Linked DNA regions of Homo sapiens: region 2 is linked to region 1. Evidence: promoter capture Hi-C in 16 types of primary human blood cells and fetal thymus (Javierre and others, 2016). All regions are on one chromosome and are shown on one strand. Each heading gives the region's core, a stretch centred on a gene start or on the middle of the fragment in contact. The rest is flanking DNA. Distances are from core to core; before and after follow the strand shown.

Region 1 (6,214 bases), core at 1,889-4,388:
ACACACCAAGATGCCCCCCCCCCCACACACACACACAGACCCTCCCACAGACACAGTATCATATGCAGGGTCACAAAAACATAGACACTGTCAGATGTACAGTTGCATGCTGAGATGTTGCACACACAGGGACTCATTCCCACACAGACTGTTACACACAGGGTCACTCACACATACCTGGGAACTGGGGGTTCATATAGCCTACTCCCTTCTCCCCCTGGTCTGTCTCAGACTACCTGTCTGTATCTCTGTCCCCTCCTCCAACCACCACCACCACCACACACACATAGGAATTTTCCTAGGGGCAGGCTGCAGCTGAGGAAGCCTGTTTTGCCTTGGTGCAAGGCATTCGAGGGCAGGATGTGGTTTCTTGGTTGCTCCTGCCCCAGCCCCCAGCCTGGGTCCTGTCCAGGAGGAAACCCAGCTTAGAACAATGTCCGCACTGATCAAGGCTCAGCCCTGGACTCCACCTGCCATTCACTAGAGTACAGAGACCCAGGGTCTCCAACAGCCCCTCTCTCATACTATCCTGCAGCCCTGGAAAACACTTCTGGATCCCCAAGGACAAATGGGTCAGTTCTGCCATTTGACTAAAGTGACTAAAGTTGCCATTTCAGGGGCCAGTGTCTCAATCCCCTCCATAACCCTATGTGATAGAGCTTATGATCCTTATTTACAGATAAGGACATGTATTGGGGATAACCAAGTGTCCAACTCCAGATCACCAGCTAATAGCAGACCCTATATTTGAATCCAGTTGTGTCTGATTTTAACTTTGAGTGTCAAAGGCTTGCCTGTCTCCTCAGTAGGCCCGCTCCCTCACCAGGGTATTGGAGAGGTAAGGACCAGGGTAGGGGAATGAGCCTTCCCAGCAGCAATGAAAGAGTAGCCTAGGGCACCTTCTTCAGAAGTCAACTCAGCCATCCCCCTACCTGCAGGGATGCTGTTTCCAGCCTCACGAGACCTGACAGTGAGCAGCTCACTCTCAGAGGTCTCCCTTCAGTCCCGTCTGAGTAGGAGGTGTTAGGTCAAGAGCCCAGCCCTTCACCCCTTTCTCTTCCCTGCTCCTGAACTGCTGGGCTACTTTATACAGGGGACCCTCTTTTTCTGAGCTTTCATTCCCCCATCAGCAACATGAGGGGAGTAACTCTAACCCTTTTGACTTCATAGACAGAAAACAAAATGCAAAATACACTATTTTTTAGTCTTATAAGCACGCATGATGTTGTGTCATAATTGTTGCAATCTATCCTTAACACCTCCTGTGACTCAGATCTCTGTGGCAGCTCAGTTTCCCATGACAAGAGCACCCCCTCAAAGCTCCCCTCCCTGCTAGGACCTGTCCCCTCCTATCCTTCTCTACCACCCCAATCCTGTTATGCCCCCAGGATGCCCAGCTTTTGCCTTAGGCCTGGGGCTAAGGAGTAAAATCGGATCAGAGGAAAGTGTGGGTTCAGGAGCCTGACACTTCTGGGAATAAGGCCTCTGGGAAGACAGCTCACAGAAACTTTCCTCTTCCCTTTGCTTTCTTCCCTTCATTCAAACCAGACCTGTAAACCTGGCCTGGAGGAGGATGGAACCAGGAAGCAGAGCCTCCACCCCTATCCCAACCCAGTCCGTAAGAGGAGGGAACGATGGGCAAGAACCACATCTTGGGTCTGCAGCCCTGGCCCCTGAAAGATCCCAGCCGCACCAGGAAAACCAAGGCCTGGCTGGGGGCGCTGTGAGGAAGGTGTCTTGGAAGGGGGAGGTTGTCTCCTGGGGCTCAGGACAGCAGCTGGGCTGGGGAACAGGGGCAGGGAGAGGATGCGTCTGGAAAATAATCTGGGGGCTGAAAAATGTGCTGGCATCTTAGCTGAGAGGTATGTCTGTCCACATCTGGGGTTTCCGCCGAGGTGGAGTCTGCCCTCACCAAGGCAATGGTTCTGGGACAAACTTCAAGGTTCGTTCAGGTCCACTCCCCACAGATCTCAGTTCTTTAGGTCTGGGGGTAGCAGTGGGAGGTGATAGGAAGAACCTGTTTCCTGACCCAGGACAGGCCACCCAAGTCTATGTCTCCTCTCTGCTCAAGCAAGTCCCAGCATCTTTGGACAGCTCCCCTCTTCAAAAGCAGCTGACCACTGTCCCTAGCCCAGGATCCCAGGGCAGGAAAAGCAACAAGGGCAAGAGAGAGGGGCTGCGGTGGTCCACCTGTGGCCTGCTCTCTGGTGGCACCAAGGAGCCCAGGTGTTCTTGCGTGTCCCAGTATGCCTTCTCTTGGGGCCTGCTGTCAGTGCAGGATGAGAATGGGAGGTCAGCAGAGTGGGTGAGTGGGGGCGCCTGGCTGCTTCCAGGGGGGCACTGAGCCTTCTGCCTGTTTGCTACAGAGGCTGGTAGGGGACGGGGGGTAGGTTCCATCTGGGAGGTCACTGGGAAGGACAAGCTGCCACCGCAGGGCCCCAGGAGCCATGAATCAAAGGCTGTGCTGGGGGCTGATGAGAAAGGGAGAGGAGCCGGGTCTCCGCACCCTGGCCCTCTCAGCTCCTCCCAGGGTCTTCTCAGGGTCTTTGAGCAGGTGGATTGTCTGGGGAGGCACTGCGGGAGAGGGGTCTGGGTCAGACTGTGGGGCAGAGGGAGTCCGGGAGGATGCCGGGCTGTGCCAGGGCCGCTGACACGGTTTAGAAGGAGTTGGGAAAGTGCTGGGGACAAAGGAGAAGCGGAGCAGAAGTCAGCGCAGGGCGGCCGCGGGGCAGCGGGTGCCCGGGCAGAGGGACCCGGGTGGCGAGGAAGAGGGCGCCTCGCTGGGGTTGGGGGGAATCCTCTGTAGTCCAAGCCCTCACCTGGGCCTTCCAGCCCAGGGGCACCAAGTCTCCAGTCCCTACTCCCCCCGAGGCTTTCGGATGCCCCCGCCAGCGGTCTCGGAGTTTCGTTCAAGTCCCGGGGCCCTCCACCAGGACACTGCGCCTGCAGCCCGCAGAGCCACCCGCCTCCCCCGGTGTCGTCGGGGTCCCTGGATCTCACCTGGGGGCGGGGGCCGGCCCTGCCCACCATCCCGAGCAGCAGCAGCGCAAGGCGCAGCGGGCCGGGGGCGCCGGCCATGGCGGGGAGTTCAGGACTGGGCCATCGCTGCCACCTGCGGAACCGCGTGCGGAGACTGATCCCGGGCTGGTGGCGGGCGGTGGGGGAGGAGCCGGCGAGGGGCCGCCCTGCCCGCGGGAGGGGCCTGGCAGGGTCCCGGTTCTTCCGGCCGCCAGAGACCCCTGGGCCCGCCCCGCCGCACCCCTCTGCCGGTCCCGGGCCAGGAGATAGCGGGCACTGCTCTCCGAGCGAGCGCGGCTGGGAATCAGGAAGCGCAGGAGGCGGCCACCAGCTCTGAGCGCCGACAGTGCGCCTGGCCGGCTTTCAGCGACAAGCCAGGCCCTCCTCCCACCCTGGCACCCCGGACCTCCTCCCGGGTCTCCCAGCTGAGGAAAGCTACAGCAACCCCCGCCCATTCAGGGTCCCTCAAAGGAAACTGAGGCCTGAGGAATGGACGGGACTTGTCCAAGGTCACACGGCTTGGCAGGCCACTCCTGGAAAGTATCCTCAGAGCCAGGGGTGACTAATAAGAACTTTTTTTTCCCAGGATTACCCCTTCCCAGGTCCTCTTCTCATTCCCATGTTCTGTCCTGAAGGCAGGCCCAGGATAGTCAAGGTTGGGGGTGGGGAGACTGACAAATGGATCCACAGAACTCTGACAGTCGCAAGGGTCTAGAGGTTCCCCTCTACCTGGAAACTTCAGCATTGCAGGGCAGGGAGGGATGAGGCTGGGGTCTGCCTTTCTGGAAGCTTCCCTGCCACCTCTTGCAGCTCCAGCCTCCTGCTCTTGTAACCTGTGTATGTGTGATAATGTGTGTCCATGGTTGTTCCTGCCTTCTTTATCTCTCTCCCTGCTTCGCTTCTTGGGGACTCTGGATCTTTCCTGTCTGTTTCCACTCCCACCCCTAAACACTGCAGGGCCCTCAGGTTCCCTTCTTACACCCAACAAGTGGAAAGAGAATGCTAAGAGGGCACTGACTGTATCTTCCCTAATGCTCTTGAGAAGTGGGGATGGGAAAAGAGGATCCCCCACCAAAGAACCTTGATGCCACTCTTAGGAAAGATGAGTTGTGGCAGAGCCCAGCCTCGGACCTGCCGTGGGGCATGTCGACTAAAGGGACAGGAAGTTTGTGAAAGTAGCTACTCCTGGGGAGAGAACTGAACTTCTCAAAGTCCTGAGGAAGGCTGGACCTGCCTGAGCCCAGGGAAGGAGACAGCCAGTGGGAGGGGCCCCTGGCTTCCATTCACCAGGAGAGACTCTCCTCTCCAGCAAGCTCTGGTTCCACCACCTGAGACTCGTTTATTCCCTCCCCTCCCAAGAGGTCAGTCTAGCAGGGACCTTCTAGGTATCACTTAGGATTAGGTTGTTCACCTGGGAGTGACAGAAAATCCCACCCCAAACAACAATGGCATAACCAAGGGCTCTCTCATGTAAAGCAAGGCCAGAGGTTCAGCCCAAGGTTGGAGTGGCTGCTCCCTGATCATCAGGGTGCCTGGGTCTTCTAGCTTCCACCATCCTTTGGTCCAAGATTTCCACCTCATGATCCAAGGTGGCTGCTCCAGCCACGATATCCAAATTCCAACCAGCAGGAAGGAGGAATGGGAAGGAGATGGGTGCACCTCCACCCATAAAGACACATCTTGAAAGTGGCAGCCATCAATTCCACACCTCTTGCTCAGAACTTAGTCACATAGGCACTGCTAGCTGCAAAGGAGGGTGGGAAAAGCACCCTCTATTCCAGGCAACCATGGGCAAGGTTAAATACTGGGCTTTTATACTCTAGAAGAAGGCAAATTTTAAAAAAGATACTGGAAGTGAGTTTTAGGCACTGCTATATCAAGTTTAGGGTGGAGAGAGGAGAAAGGAAGAGATAGAGAAGCTATTCAGACAGAACTGGGGTCTTTATCATGAATTTGTCAGCCTCCAGATTACATTGATTCAGCAAGTATCTATCGAAAACCTACCATGTGCCAGACACCATTCTAGGTCCTGGGGATACAATTGGTGATGCTGTCCCTATCTTCAGAGAGATTATATTCTAATACAGGAGGGAAACATTAAATAATTATTGGAGTCATTTATAATTGTGTAAGCACTATTATGGTAAGCAAATGCCCCCAGTACTTATAAGGCCATGTTTTCTCTGCCAGGGGGCTTTCTCTGACTTGGAGAACATTTTTGCATTCAGCCAGTGCAGGGTAGGTACCCCTAAGAGCAGCTGTCAACCATGGATGGACAGGAGTGGATGGATAAATACCCCATCCAGAGGTGTGTACCACAGTCTCCCAGAGGTCCCCTGTGCGATGGAGCCCAGCTTCCCACAGCAGTTACCTGCTCAGTAATGCACCCTGTGTTGGCTTCATTTCCTCACTTGTCCCACTTTCCCACAGTAGGGTACCAGTGCTTCCGGGGTCACACCTCACATAAACAATTTGGCTGGGCATGGTGGCTCACCGTCTGTAATCTCAGCACTTTGGGAGGCCAAGGTGGGCGGATCACCTGAAGTTGGGAGTTCGAGACCAGCCTGACCAACATGGAGAAACCCCATCTCTACTAAAAATACAAAATTAGCCGGGCGTGGTGGTCCATGCCTGTAATCCCAGCTACTCGGGAGGCTGAGGCAGGAGAATCGCTTGAACCTGGGAGGTGGAGGTTGCAGTGAGCCAAGATCATGCCATTGCACTCCAGCCTGGGCAACAAGAGTGAAACTCCGTCTCAAAAAATAAAATAAATGAAAAATAAATAAATAATTTGTCCTTAAATCCTTATCTCAGGATCTGCTTCTGGGAGAGCCCAGCTGAAGACAGTGGGCATATGAGGGTATTTAGGAAGCTCAGGGCCTGTCCCTCCTCTTAACATCTGGGGGTCCAAAAACCTCTGAGTTTGCTGTGATGCTAGGACAGAGTATGGACTCGGGAATACAGTTTCCTTCTTTCCCCTTGCTGTTACCAGGGCCTCTCACTCAGGCTCCTTAGAGCAGAGGAAAGGATGAGCTCCCTAAGAGCAGAGATTTGAATGGATGGCATACTGTTTGGTAAACTGTTAACACCTGTAATCCCAGCTACTCGGGAGGCTGAGACAGGAGAATCGCTTGAACCCAGGAGACGGAGGTTGCAGGGAGCAGAGATCATGCCACTGCTCTCCAGCCTGGGTGAC
Region 2 (6,214 bases), core at 1,496-3,995, 240 kb before region 1:
TTTCTTCTTCTTCTTTTTTTTTTTTTTTTTTTTTTGAGATGGAGTTTCGAGCTCAGGCTGTAGTGCAATGGCATGATCTCAACTCACCGCAACCTCCGCCTCCCGGGTTCAAGCAATTCTCCTGCCTTAGCCTCCCGAGTAGCTGGGATTACAGGCATGCGCCACCACACCTGGTATTTTTGTATTTTTAGTAGAGACGGGGTTTCTCTATGTTGGTCAGGCTGGTCTCAAACTCCTGACCTCAGGTGATCCGCCCGCCTCAGCCTCCCAAAGTGCTGGGATTACAGGCGTGAGCCACCACGCCTGGTCCAGGGTTTCTTCTTGAGGTGAAGAAAGTGGCCAGGAGTAGTTGCTCATGCCTGTAATCCCAGCACTTTGGGAGGCTGATGGAGGAGTAGAGCTTGAGTCCAGGATTTCAAGACCAGCATGGGCAACATGTTGAGGCCCCATCTCTACAAAAATAGAAAAATATTAATGGAGCATGGTGGCACACACCTGTGTTTCTAGGTACTCAGAAGGCTAAGGCAGGAGGATCTCTTGAGCCCAGGAGGTTGAGGCTGCAGTGAGCCGTGATCTTACCACTACCCTCTGGCCTGGGAAACAGAGGGAGAACCTGTCTCAAGAAAAAAGAAAGTGTTCTAAAATAGACTGTGTTGAAGTTGGCGCATATCTATGAATTATACTAAGAACCATTGACTTGTACAATTTAAATGGGTAAACTGTGTGGTATGTATATTATATCTCAATAAGCCCATTTTTAAAAAAACAAAACCCACTAGAAGATAAACTTCAGGAGGATGGGACTTTGCTAGCTCCTGACTGTCTCTGGCGTGTGGTGGGCACCCAGGAGCTGTTTTGTGACTGGTAAATGAATGAATGCTTGACCTCTTTCTCCCAACCCCTCACTGCCAATTCAGTGCAAAATCCTATTGTTTGACCTCTAAGTTCTGGCCGCTTCTCCCCAGCTTCACTGCCACCACGCAGTTTCACACTACCATTTTCTCCATCTCACAAGAGCCCCCTCCCATCCATTCTCCACGCAGCTGTCACAGAAGCCTTCTAAAAAGACAGAACTGATCTGTCCTGCCTCTGCCAAAAATGCCTCAATAATTTCCCATTGCTCCCAGGACAATGTGCAAAACCCCAAACATGGCCTCCAGGCCACCTTGCCTGCCTTGGCTTCTCCACCTACCTTGCCTGCCTTGGCTTCTCTGTCACCACCATACTCTGCTCTCCCCTCTCTGCAGTAGGTATCAGCTCTCCTGGTTCCTCAGACACTGCCTAGAACATGGGCAGAGCCTCCACTCACCCCATCCCACACACCCACTCTCCTCTCCAGTAGAGCTCAGCTCCAGGCCATCTCCTTACAGGGCTTCCCAGAAAGAGGCCATAACCCGCTTCGTAGGTCCTCACATCTCCCTGAAATCTCATGGCACTTACCATGCAAGCTTGTCATTATATATCTATTTGGGTGTTTATTTCAATTCAACTCAACCAATATTTATGGATGACCTGCATGCCAGGTCCTCTTTCACAACACCTCCTCCTGGTCCCATCCCCAACCTACAAGGGCTCCCTGTCTGCCTCTGTCCCTTTGCCCCTGAGAGGCCAGGACCAGCCCAGCCAGTAGACTCCTGGGCAGATAATGACAGCAAAGACACAACAACTGGCCATGCACAGTGGCTCACACATGTAATCCCAGCACTTTGTGGGGGCCAAGGTGGGTGGATCACTTGAGGCCAGGAGTTCAAGACCAACCTGGCCAGTATGGCAAAACCCCATTTCTTCTAAAAATACAAAACTTAGCCAGGCATGGTGGCAGGCACCTGTAATCCTAGCTACTTGGAAGACTGAGGCAGGAGAATCACTTGAACCCAGGAGATGGAGGTTGCAGTGAGCTGAGATCGCACCATTGCACTCCAGCCTGGGCGACAGAGCAAGACTCTCTCAAAAACAAAAACAAAAACAACAAAAAGACGCGATAACAACTGCCACCCAGTCCAGCCTTTCCAGGGCCCGACTGGCCCAGCAGTCAGGGCCAGTGAGGAATGGATGGGCAGAGCATGAGCTGGGCACCTGGACAAGTTCTAGATCAGCTCTGCCACTGGCTGGACATGAGGCCTTGGGCCAATCCCTGCCCTCCCTGGACTTCAGTGTCCTTATTTATAAAAAGAGTCTCTCGGTCTGACTTAGGAGAGTATTCTTTGAATCAATGACCAAGATCTTTATAAAAAGTTCATGATGACAGGGCTTCGGGTTTCACTCATTCACTCTTCAATCGTTGATCATTGATTCATTCATTAATCGCCATATATTTATCAAGCATCTCCTCTATAACAGGCCTTATTCTAAGCTGAGTTGTCACAGGGACCAAGACAATGACAGGCAGGGCCTATTGAGGATACAGATATGGGGCCACGGACACAAACACATCAACAGGCAATCCCAGTTCTGTGTGTGAAAGGAAAAATATAATGTTCTTTATTCTTTTTTTTTTTTTTTTTTGAGACAGAGTCTCACTCTGTCGCCCAGGCTGGAGGGCAATGGCGCGATCTCTGCTCACTGCACCCTCCGCCTCCCGGATTTAAGTGATTCTCCTGCCTTAGCCACCTGAGTAGCTGGGATTACAGGTGCTGGTCACCACACCCAGCTAATTTTTGTATTTTCAGTAAAGACAGGATTTCGCCATATTGGCCAGGCTGGTCTTGAATTCCAGTCCTCAGGTGATCTGCCCACCTCGGCCTCCCAAAGTGCTGGGATTGTAGGCATGAGCCACTGCACCTGGCCATAATATAATGTTCTTTATTTTCTAATAATGCCATCTTTATTTCAAGTGCTGCCTCAAATGAGGTAGAAGGAGAATATATCTGTTGTCAATGCTGCCTACTCCTTTTCTGCCATCACCTCCTTTCTTCTAGTCCAGGAAAAGTATTTATCAAGTCAAGGAAGGGATGGGGAGCAGGGTGGGATTCAGTTACTGTGGATATGTAACAAAAAAATTCACAATTCAGGCAGGGCTCAGCGGGGACACTTCTGTTCTGCTGGGCATCCGCTGGGGAAGCTGGAAGGCTGCAGCAAGATCATCTGAAGATTCACTCACATGCCTGGCTGTTGGCTGAAAACTTAGAATATGTACAGGTGGCCTCCCCATGTGGCCTTGGCTTCCTGACAACACGGCGGCTGGTTTTCAAGGGTGAGTATGGACAGAAAGAGAGAGAGAAGCTGAACTGCTGCAATGACCTACCCTGGGAAGATTAGGCTTGCGCCACATTCTGTCCACCTAGTCGTCTCAAGATCCCACTCAGTTTCAATGGGATGAGGAAATATCCAACTCTTGATTGGAAAGGTTCTGGAAGAGCATGTGGAAAAGAAACTATGGCCATGGCCACGTTTGAAAAATACAAGCTACCACAAGAGTGGGGAATGGTCCAGTTTACTTTTTTTTTTTCTAATGTCTCCCCTTTTTTTTTTTAATGACTTAAACCTTTCAGTTCCCCTAAGGGCTTAGGATTCAGGACACAAAGTCCAGTGACTTTTCTGCTTTCTGCTTTGTCATGGTCCTCCTGAGGAAATAAGGACCTCAGTTAACATCTAGCAAGTAACACCAACCAGGTGGAAAAGTGCTCTGAGAGCCACCCTGGCCTGAGGAATTGGGAAGCTGGGAAGGGAGGAGGAAGGAGAAAGTGGCCAGATGTGGAAGAGACAGGTAGGGCAATGAGGGACAGAGGGACGTCAGGGTAGATGCTTAGTGCTCCATGCAGGGAGGGAACAGCATGTGCAAAGCTGCTAAAGGAAAAAAAGAAGAAGTCAGCATTGAGACAGAGCTGAGAGACGAGGAGGGTGAGATTGGCAAACCAGTTAAACTTTATATGAGGAGTCTGGTGTGAAGTCATGGAAGGAAGGGTTTTAAGCAAAATAATGTGATAAGATTTGTATAAAGCCTACCTTGAATAAAGTGAAATGGATTCAAGAAGCATTTGAGAAGCAGAAATATTGGGTCTTGTTGATGTATTGGGTATGGAGGAGGGAAAGGGAAGCTTCCCCCAGGTGCTCACAGCACCTCCTTCTCAGGGTTTGCCCAGATTCTGGCCAGGAGGCCACAGCCACTGCCAGGAGCCAGCACAGCCCACTGCATGCCTGCAAAGGCGGGCCATGGCAGGACAAGACCTCCTGGAATGGGATGAGACATGCACTCCCAACTGTCCACAGCTTCACTAGGGCCTTCATCCGTGAGCAGGATTCCCGTCTGTTCTCTCCCCAGGAGCAGAGCTCAGTAGCCTCTGACAAAGGGACTTCTCAGCCAATGATGCGGGAGTAGAGGCCTAGCAGGCTGGAGGGCAGTGGGGAGGAGGAGCTGCAGGGCATCCTGCAGCCAGAGAGCACCCCCTGGGTGAACAGGTGACCCAATCTGCCTTCCACAGGAATCACCAGGAAAGGTGAGGCCAGGAAGGATAGAGACGCTTCTTGCACACCTGAGTGGGGAGATGCGTCTGCATTGGGACCAAATCTGAAGTTACCTGGGCCCCTGGGCCACCTGCTCTGGGCACCCAGCACTAGCACCATTGTGCCCAGGGCAGGAAAGCCACAGGATGAATGTGCCCCACCTTCCTAGAGCAGCAATTTGGCTCAAAGAATGTGAGGAAAATATTATTTTCACATTAAACAGTATGATGAAGTAGAATGTAAGATGCCTGTGTGGATATTCAATAAACGGAAGACTTGCGATCCCACTGGTGCTCTGGGTTGGCTGTTTTGAGCCAAGCCCACGCCCACACACAAGCCTTCAGGGGAATGTGGTGTGGCTCCTTCAGGTGCCTCTCTGGTGGAAAAGTCTGAGGAAGATCACAGGCTTCGTTAACACCCGCAGTCCCGAGGATGGCTCTGCAACAGGATCTGCTGCTGGGAACGAACAGCAGTGTGTGGAAGGGGCCCCCAGGCCACACAGGTGTCACCTCAAGGAGCAGCTCCCGGTCACCCACAGCACTGAGAGGTGGTGGAAGTGTTGGTAGTGTCTTTCACTGGTGGAAGGTGACCTCTCCTGGAGCTGGTCTAGGCTCCCAGCAGGTCGTTCCTGTCACCTATCCTGCCATGGCAGCGCAAGTCAGTTCTCTCTAGCCGGCAGCTCCCATTGGGGATTGCAGCCAAGGAGAGTCCAGGTGGACTTTAGTCAGCCAGCAGTGGAGAGGAGACAGGAGAGAAGCCCCTCCTTGCACAGTTGACTTGGGCTCTGGTTTTGCTGGCAGTGCCCAGTTCTGGCACCTTTGCCCCCTGGTCAATGAGTACCAGGGTGGCTCTGGGTCAGAACAGTGACCAAAGGGCTGGGTGGGAGTGGACAGGTAGTGGGAGGGGCAGTGAGAGATGCAGGAAAGGGCTGTAGCCCTTTGTGGTCTGACTGAGAGAAGGAGAAAGGAACGAAGAGCAAGCACAAGCACGGGGGAGAAATGAGGGACTTTCTGTGTCGTCATCTTTTCCTGGTGTGAGGAGAGACCCTACCAGGCGGACCCAGGCCATCTGCTCTGCTCTAGTCCGTGGGCCCAATAGGACCTCTGCAGAGGTACCCAATGGCCCATGGCTACAGTGGACCTGGTACAGAAGAAAGAGAGCTGTACCCACTCCTCAGGAAGCCCCAGTAGAAGGGATAGAACGAAGATACAGCCCCGTCCTCAGGGCCCTAGTCTGAGGGGAGACGCAGCCCCGTCCTCAGGGAGCCCCAGTCTGAGGGGAGACGCAGCCCTCTCCTCAGGGAACCCTAGTCTGAGGGGAGACGCAGCCCTCTCCTCAGGGAACCCTAGTCTGAGGGGAGACGCAGCCCCGTCCTCAGGGAGCCCCAGTCTGAGGGGAGACGCAGCCCTCTCCTCAGGGAACCCTAGTCTGAGGGGAGACGCAGCCCCGTCCTCAGGGAGCCCCAGTCTGAGGGGAGACGCAGCCCTCTCCTCAGGGAACCCTAGTCTGAGGGGAGTGGTCTCCTTAGGTCCCTGCAAAGGCCCTTGCCTCCCTCACCACCTGTACTTCTGTGGCTTTGCTCCAAATTCATATAAACTGAGATGGGAAATCCTAGGAACTGAAACACTGTTAATCACCCTTTATTATTGCCCTTCCCTGGGTGACTCAGCCGTAGGAAAATCACAGCTCCTGAAGTGAACCCGGAAAGAAAACTGAAAGGGAGAGTGATGAGTGAGAGTCAGCTACTGCCACAGCCTTGGCAGCCACATAG

What was found. The method cuts DNA at HindIII sites, captures the fragments that hold promoters and counts their contacts. A CHiCAGO score of 5 or more calls a contact.
Region 2: a contact is called between a fragment that was not itself captured here and the fragment with the promoter of GLP1R in region 1, in 1 of 17 cell types (activated CD4 T cells). The highest score is 5.7, in activated CD4 T cells.

Annotation. Positions count from the first base shown.
Region 1 is chr6:39,045,705-39,051,918 of GRCh38, reverse strand. It overlaps GLP1R (glucagon like peptide 1 receptor), which reads right to left and starts at 3,138. Exons shown (of 13, transcript NM_002062.5): 1 at 3,001-3,138. The coding sequence starts at 3,078. RefSeq lists an enhancer at 1,954-2,454. The HindIII fragment of the contact is 5,231 bases long and covers 1-3,809 here.
Region 2 is chr6:39,280,578-39,286,791 of GRCh38, reverse strand. No RefSeq gene overlaps it. Among named protein-coding and RNA genes, the nearest start is that of KCNK17, 31 kb to the left of the region's middle. The HindIII fragment of the contact is 2,589 bases long and covers 1,451-4,039 here.